Regions from separate parts of the Homo sapiens genome. Here region 1 is linked to region 2. The links are contacts of gene promoters, found by promoter capture Hi-C in blood cells and fetal thymus (Javierre and others, 2016). All regions are on one chromosome and are shown on one strand. Each heading gives the region's core, a stretch centred on a gene start or on the middle of the fragment in contact. The rest is flanking DNA. Distances are from core to core; before and after follow the strand shown.

Evidence for each region. The method cuts DNA at HindIII sites, captures the fragments that hold promoters and counts their contacts. A CHiCAGO score of 5 or more calls a contact.
Region 1: a fragment that was not itself captured here is called in contact with the fragment with the promoter of NUDT16 in region 2 in 1 of 17 cell types (total B cells); the score reaches 5.5 in total B cells.

What each region holds. Positions count from the first base shown.
Region 1 is chr3:132,717,351-132,721,435 of GRCh38, reverse strand. It overlaps NPHP3 (nephrocystin 3), which reads left to right. Exons shown (of 27, transcript NM_153240.5): 2 at 1,606-1,731; 3 at 2,292-2,442. It overlaps NPHP3-ACAD11 (NPHP3-ACAD11 readthrough (NMD candidate)), which reads left to right. Exons shown (of 45, transcript NR_037804.1): 2 at 1,606-1,731; 3 at 2,292-2,442. Among named protein-coding and RNA genes, the nearest start is that of NPHP3-AS1, 2.4 kb to the left of the region's middle. The HindIII fragment of the contact is 846 bases long and covers 2,264-3,109 here.
Region 2 is chr3:131,380,115-131,384,148 of GRCh38, reverse strand. NUDT16 (nudix hydrolase 16) reads right to left here and starts at 2,375. Exons shown (of 3, transcript NM_152395.3): 1 at 2,207-2,375; 2 at 1,834-2,103; 3 at 1-987. The coding sequence starts at 2,344. The coding sequence ends at 808. It overlaps NUDT16-DT (NUDT16 divergent transcript), which reads left to right and starts at 2,674. Exons shown (of 4, transcript NR_038976.1): 1 at 2,674-2,816. RefSeq lists enhancers at 1,367-1,935, 1,936-2,505, 2,797-3,066 and a silencer at 2,387-2,686. The HindIII fragment of the contact is 2,474 bases long and covers 1,784-4,034 here.

The sequences.
Region 1 (4,085 bases), core at 1,437-3,936, 1.3 Mb before region 2:
CTCAAGTGTCGGTTTCTTTGTAAAGTTTCATCGCTCTTGCATTTTAATGGTCTTGACATGAAAATTTCTGGAAGCCTCCTGATCTCACCATGGTTGAAAACCTTCTCTAGATGTAGTCAAATTTCCCTAGTCCATTTGATTAATTTACGCTAAAAGCAATTATTGCATGCCCTCCATGTAGCAGGTCCATTATAATTCAATAAAATAGTATGTAAAGCAGCCGGGCGTGGTGGCTCACGCCTGTAATCCCAACACTTTTCGAGGCCTAGGCGGACGGATCACCTGAGGTCAGGAGTTCGAGATCAGCCTGGCCAACATGGTGAAACCCCGTCTCTACTAAAAATACAAAAATTAGCCGGGCATGGTGGCACGCGCCTGTAATCCCAGCTACTCAGGAGGCTGAGGCAAGAGAATTGCTTGAACCCGGGAGGCGGAGGTTGCAGTGAGCCGAGATTGCACCATTGCACTCCAGCTTGGGTGACAGAGCGAGACTCCGTATCAAAAAAAAAAAAATAGTATAAAGCAAGAGGTTGCTTTTCTGTGAACGAATCTCTAAAACTTTTTGCCCTCAGTTTGGGGCCCCTCTGGTCGTTGTTGTGTCGTTTGTGTACTCTTTACTGTGGGAGAGACTTATAGGCAGCCTAAGAGTTCCCGGAGTCGTTACAGTCGGGGTGAAATAAATACCTCAGACTGATTTTTCTAAAAGAAAAAAAGCCTCCTGTCTTCAAGACTAGACATTCTTCTAGTCAGGTTTTGTTGTTGTTGTTGTTGTTGTTTTTGTTTTTAAACTCCCTCATTAGCTGTTGTGTAATTATTGTCGTTGTCTGGGAAGAAGTCCGTGTAGCAGTTTATCTGTTGTCTTATCAGTTTTCCTACTGGGCAACCTTAATGCACTTGCATGTATAAAATGGACTAGTGCATTTCAAATATCTGATTCAATGTATCCAAGCCACTGCCCAACAGACACCGCACGTTGGAAACAACTGTGAGGTGGGGGTAGAAAAGGCCAAACCAAACAGGGCGGAGTGCAATAAGGGTTGGCAAGTGTCACAGTCACTCATGTCACCAATCCTGATTCCCTGTGAAACATACTGGTTCCTTTCTCACATATCGAGGCATGAAAAAACTTATCCATATTTATTTCATTCATTGTGTCAGACATTTACTGGAGACTTGCAGTGTACCAGGCACTGTGAAGTGCTCAAGGGATGGTGAGATGAATAAGACATAGTGCCAACAGGCACACAGTCTCTTAGAACTACTTATCCTTCAAGTTAAGCCTTACAAAATGTAATTTTTACTATCACAAAGATGGAAAAGGCATAAGGAAGTTTAAGAGCTGATGCAGTGTTTCAAAAAAAGTTAATTTCCATTGAAAGCTTAATGTTGGTCTTTATTTGTGGTAGTTCAAGCATGGTTGCGGTTTTTTTCCATCATGTTTTGAATAAAATGGCAACATGAAGTTCCTGATAATTGGTAAAATAATAAGTAGACTTAAAATTCTAAGATACGTAACATATATATATATATATGTATATATATAAGAATGTAAAATTGAGGAGCAAGACTATTTTTGTTAGGAAATAACAAGGTAAATTATTCTAGGCACTTCAAAAAACGTATCAGAAGATACTTCGAGAAAAAGAAAGTGCTTTAGAAGCGAAATACCAAGCAATGGAGAGAGCAGCAACATTTGAACATGACAGAGATAAAGTTAAAAGGCAATTCAAGGTAAATTCCTTACATTTTTACCCCCAAAGCAACATAGAATAAAATAGTATATTCTAAAAGTATATATAATATATAATGCGATGAATAAATAGAAGTAAGTCATGTAGGATTCAGGAAAGTTGTAAGAATTAGTGTAGAGCACTTTCACATTTTTGAGTTGGACGTGGTAAACTTGAGATCATTTCAAAGAAAAACGTATGAAAGTGAACATTTTAATAGTAATTTCGAAAAAAAGGAAAGCGTTTCCATATGGGGAAAAGCATTTGGAAATGTTTAGGGATGTTGTATTATTGGTATTTAGTGGGAGAGAGACAAATTTCCTAAACATCATGCAGTGCACATGACAGACCCACACCACAGACACGCATCCTGCTGGAATTCCAGTGGCTTCCAGTTGCAAAACAGTAAGGTAAAGGTACTAGGACATTCACCCTATGAAAGAGGAAATCGAGGACCAAATGAATATTGGTTTTATGAATGAAATATTTTTCCCTTAAAGTTGATGACACAACTTTTTGATTATGAAAAAGCTTTCAACATTAAAATTATTCTTTTTAAAGATTTTTAGGGAGACCAAAGAAAATGAAATTCAGGACTTACTGAGGGCCAAGAGGGAGTTGGAGAGCAAACTTCAGAGGCTACAGGCTCAGGGTATCCAAGTATTTGATCCTGGGGAGTCTGATTCAGATGACAACTGTACAGATGTCACTGGTAAGTGTATATCCTATTTATATTTTGAGCTTTCAACATGGCTGTAATGACATGTAGAGCCAACTTTGAATTCTGCTAGATTTCTTTTACTTATCTATATTAGGTTATTGCTTTAACTACTGTTGCAAATAGTGTCGTGTGTTCTCTCTGTCAGCTGCTAAGACACCTCTTCTCCACGAAGTGTATGAATTTGGGGACTGAAGTTCCTTCTACCTTGTCACTCTGCCAACCCTAACCCATAACTTTTACTCTCTAGTCTAAGATATCTACCCCAGCTCCCACCAGCACATCTGCATTTTAGCCAAGGGAAAGAAGGAAGGGGAGAACACGTTCCTTTCCCAGAAGGTACAACCTAAGATCACTTCTCAAATCCCATTAGTCAGAACTATAACTGGGAAGACTGGATAGTGTAATCAGCAGCCAGGCAGACATGTGTCCAACTAAAATGTAGTGTTCTGTTACTGAAGAAAGAAGAGGAGAATGGATATTGGAGTTACTAGTCTCTGCAATGTTATTTCTTTACATAATGATGTATTCTTTGCAACTATCATTTAGAATACTTGCCTTATAGTTCACTGAGTGGTTTCCAGTATAGCCTTGTGAACTATTCAAAAAGTATTTGTTTTATAATTAAACAAATGAAACATGTTTTCTGGAAATAAAAGCTTGAAATCACAGAGTGAAAGGGTTTACATATTCTAAGAAAATGTTAAAGTGTGATTGATACTGAAAAAAGAAAAATATTCTATTTTAAAATGCAGTGGAAAAATGTAGTCACTCTCCCATTTGTAATGAACTGTAAGTATATTCTCACAAATGGATGCATTTTGGAGTAAAATATGGTAACTGACAGTTCCTTCTTAATTTTCATTGTAGTATCATTGGAATCTGACCAACATCCTGGAATTTTTATTGCTAACTTTTAAGGAAAAAAAATGAAGGCCGGGCACGGTGGCTTATGCCTGTAATACCAGCACTTTGGGAGGCCAAGGCGGGCGGATCACGAGGTCAAAAGATCAAGACCATCCTGGCCAACATGGTGAAACCCCGTCTCTACTAAATACAAAAATTAGCTGGGCATGGTGGTGCGTGCCTGTAGTCCCAGCTACTCGGGAGGCTGAGGCAGGAAAATCACTTGAACCCAGGAGGTGGAGGTTGCAGTGAGCCAAGATCGCGCCACCGCACTCCAGTGTGGCAACAGAGCCAGACTCATCTCAAAAAAAAAAAAAAAAAAAAAAAAAGATTCTTAATGGCCAAGAGTAGCTGAGAAAATGCTCTTTTATACCCCAACACAAGTCTTAGTGATTATTTCAGTATTGACATACTCAAATGTACAGTGTTTCAAAACTATTGTAATTGTCTTGGCAAGTTAGAAACAAATTCCTTTCTAGGTCTTTTTTCATTTTTGTTTTAAACATGAAGAAGGAACACTTGAGGGGGAATGTCACCCATGTGAGATTCAAAGAGCTACAAATAGTAAGCTCAGTTTTGCCAGAGATTTAGCTCAAATAACCATTTACTTAAGGTTATCAAGGATGTAGATATTCTGACAAATATAATTGATTAGAAAATCATCATGTTCATAAGTAGCTATTGATTCAGACATTAATTTTGTTGCTCTAGGAGGTTGAGAAGGAGGTACT
Region 2 (4,034 bases), core at 1,126-3,625:
CCTCCAGTCTATGTTTTTATACCACCTTTATGTAGATGAAGTGAAGGCAGGGTGGTGCTAGACTGGGGTGGGTCAATTCCCTTCTGATAGTCTCGGAGTCTCAGGCATCCCAAAGATGAAAGCTCTAGAGGAGAGACACCAGTCCTCACAGGACTCATGTCCATGCTCAGTCCAAGGAGACCTAGCCACTTCCTTACCCTTCCTGCTCAGTTTCAGAAGAAAAGGATTGGGGATTGGTTGGGCTGCTCTCCCACCTTTTAAGAGCCAACTGCTTTGGTCACCACTCAAGACAAGAGCAAGTCTATTTTCAGAAAGCACAGGGGGTGCTCTGTTTCTCTATCCTCCCTAACAAATAGGCTGGGCTAGACCCTGGAGGGCAACCATGGAGGAGTGTGGGAAGGATTCACCCTTGCTTCAGAAGCTCCTTGCAATCAGGGACCAGGGTAGTGTGACAAATGCCACTTCAAGGTTAAACTGGACATGACCAGGGGAAGGTGTCAGGCTGTGTGTTGTTACAGATTGTATATTTGCATGCCTGGGGGTTACCAGGCTGTACGCATATAAACAGGGAGGAGGCAGGCTCTGAGAACCTGCCAGGGTGCCTGGGATAAGCTGTGACTTTTTGCCCCTGATGCCATAAGTTGGAGGGTCCTCTGCTCAAAACATATGGTACACACTTCTCCTTCTTTTCATCTGGTATCATGTATCATCTCTCAGATCCAATAAGAAAACATTCCCACGTCCTTCCCTCCCTCCCTAGTACCAAGGTCCTCATCTCAGTTTTCATGGGTCCATGGAGGGCTGCCTCTAGTGATGAGCTGGAATCTTAAGGCCTGAAATAGAGCCAGACTGCAGCAGTCCCAAGTCCTGGAGAGCTTCAAGTAACTGCTCCCGCGCAGAGCCAATAAAGGAATTCTCCAGGAAGGTAGGCAGGCCTCCTACACCATCCCGCAGGGTATACAGGGGCACTCGCACCAGGCCCAGCACCTGTAAAAGGAAGGAGACAGGAGACACTAGGGCCCCAGGTGGCTCATTCCCTTAACTCCATCCTTTCTCCAGCAGATCAGGCCTCACCCCTTAATACTCCAGCAGAACCAGGCCCAAGGCTCACACCTCACTAAAGCCTAGTGGCCCAACCTTCTGCAGGAAAATGACCCAAAACATATTATCTAGCTCTATCAATTAATCTTTCCCACATCTGCTTCTAAACCTCTAGTGGCTACTGCCTCAAAGATGTATTCATACCCTTTCACCAGTGGTTGTCAAAATGTGGTCCTCAGATTATTTGCATCAGCATTATTTGGGAACTTTTGAAAACTACAAATTCTCAGGTTTCCTCTCCCCCCGCCCCACCACCAATGCAGGAATGCTGAGAGAAATCGCTATTTTAATAAGACGCCCCGATGATTCTGCTACCTGCCAAATTTTGAGAACCACCTTCATACATAATCTATCTACTAGCCCTGCCTGAAATATCAGGGCCACATCTCCTACACAAGAAAAGCAAACCCCAAGAATAAAACCTAGGTTGCCACACCTAGATAATGTGATAATCTATCACACTGTCAATAGGGAACAGCAGAGAGACATGGATGAGTGTGTTCTAGAAAGGATCTCTCCTGGTAAAGGGTGGGAAAGACCTTTACAGAAAGCCCAGGTTGGCAGTACTAATTCAGAGTATAGATGATCACGATCCCAACTCCACCAAGAAAGCTGGGGAGAGGGCAAGGTCAGAGGGGCAAAGACTTTTCTCCAGGGATGCTTTCTTGGGGGAGAGAAAGCTTTGGGAGAAGAGGAAATTGGGAAAGGGACAGAGTCCCAGGCTGGTCCCACCTCCAGCCCGTGGTCCTTGGCGCGTGTTGCGCCGGCCTCCACAGCCAACAGCTCCTCGAGCGTCAGACGCTTGGCATAGAAGTGGGCCACAACGCGTGGCCCTGACCCGACGTGGGAGCTGCGGTAGTCAGTGCGCTCCACGCGGAAAGCGGCAGCCGCTTCGCCCAGCTCCTCGCGCAGCTCGCGGTTCAGCCCGTCCTCTAGGCTTCTGTCCTGCGTGTCCACGAATCCGCCGGGGAAGCCCAGGCGTCCATCGAAGCGCATCTGCATCTGCGGGAGGGGGAAGCGGGGATTGGCAGGGGCGCCCCAGAGGAGACCACCAGAGAGGGTGCGGGGCTCAGGCAGAAAGTGGCCGGGCGCGCCCCCTTCTCACCAGTATGGCGTAGCGCAGCGGGATGCGGCCGAAGAGCATCCCAGGGTCCGGCGCGTAGAGGAGAGCGTGGCACGCATGACGCCAGCCCGACCCCAGCGCCAGGGCCTCGCCTAGCTCCAGCCTGCGGGCTCCGGCCATGGCCGGACACTGCTCCTCTGCTGTCCCGAAGGCCCAATGGGCAGAGGGGCGGGTCTCACCTCGGACCAATCCGAGCCTGGGCGGTGCTGCAAGGCCCAATCCCTGCAGGGATAAGGGGAGGAACCTAGGCGCCTGGGGGCGGGGCGCCGCGACCGGTGCGGGAGGCAGCTAATCAGGGCGGGGCTTGCAGACCGGGTTGAAGTCCAGGGCCCAGGAACCCTAGGGTAACCGAAAGCAGCCTCTGGGTTGGGCCTGCGGTGGGGCGGGGCTAGAGGTGTGGCCGCGCCCTAAACCTGGCGCAAGGCCGGTACCTAAAGGCTCCTGGGAGCCAAAAGAGCAAGTCAGGGAACTAGCTTTGGTTGGGTTCGGTGGTACACAAAGCACAAGGCCTGGGTTGGGGTTAGGAGGAAATGAGACTTGCGGCGGGTCGGGGCTGAAGATGTGGCAGCGCCCTGAACCTGGAGAAAGGCTGGTACGTAAACGCCTGCGTCGCAATCTGGAGTCAGCTGGAGTGTCCCGGCAGGTGAGGAAGAGCTGGGGCGCTCAGTTGAGTGCTGGGAGCCAAAGAAGTAATAACTACCTTTGGTTGGGTGTGGTGGTACACAAAGCACAAGGCCTGGGTGGGGGTTAGGAGGAAATGAGGCAGGGTTGGCCTCAGACACCAAGGCCTATCCTAGGGAAATGGAGATGGACAGGCGCCATGGTCTGACAACTATCTTGAGTGGTGAAATTGAGGGGACTTGGTGACTGAGTGAATGGGGAAGAGGGAGCGCTGGGCTAGTGGTGGTTCCGAGTTTCCTGGATGTGGTGTCATTTTCTGAGAGGGGGAGAGTAGGAGAAGGGTGAGCAGTGATAAGTGTAGTTCTAAGGAATTGGGGTGGCCATAGGCAGTGGGCAGCTGATCGTGGGGGTCTGACGCACAGGGAGTGGCACATAGAGAAGTCACAGGGCAGTGAGATTTTCAGGGGAAGGGTGGGGGTGGAAGGAGCTGTGAGTGAAATCCTGTGGCACAGGACTGGGAGTGAGGAGGGGTGAGAGATAGAAGAAGCCTCCTAGGCTTTCTAGTCTTTCCCTCAAACCCCCTCAGACCTCTGAGCTATGAAGGAGGGTGGGTTACCCTACCACAAGGGCAGAGGCCTACTCAGGGCCTGATGCTGAGATGCAGGATCCCTCACTCCAGGCCAGGCCTTCCCCACCCTGCAGAGCGCCCCTACACCAGGTGTCGATATTGATTATGCAATAGAAAGCAGGAGGCAGCTCCTTGAGGGGGGCTGGGCATAAACTCACAGCCTGTAAGTGACGGCATATGGTGGGAAAGAGTCCGGACCCACCCAGAAACAGGTTTGTGACCTTAACAAGTCACTTAACTCTCTCAGATCCCAGCAGCTCATCTGTTAAGTGGAGATGATACCAACCTATTAGGGATGTTGAGATATGTTAGGCACTTAGAACAGTGCCAGGCAGAAAGTAAATGTAGCCATTCTTGGAGTTGAGGGTTGGGGCACAGTGCTATGTCTTACGTTGAGGAGCCAGGGCTGGGCACATACCTATAATCCCAGCACTGTGAGAGGCGAGGTGAGAGGATCATTCAAGGTCATGAATTTGAGACCAGTCTGGGCAACATAGCGAGACCCCGTCTCTACAAAAAATAATAATAATAAATAAAGACCCAAGTGTTGGAACTGAGCTG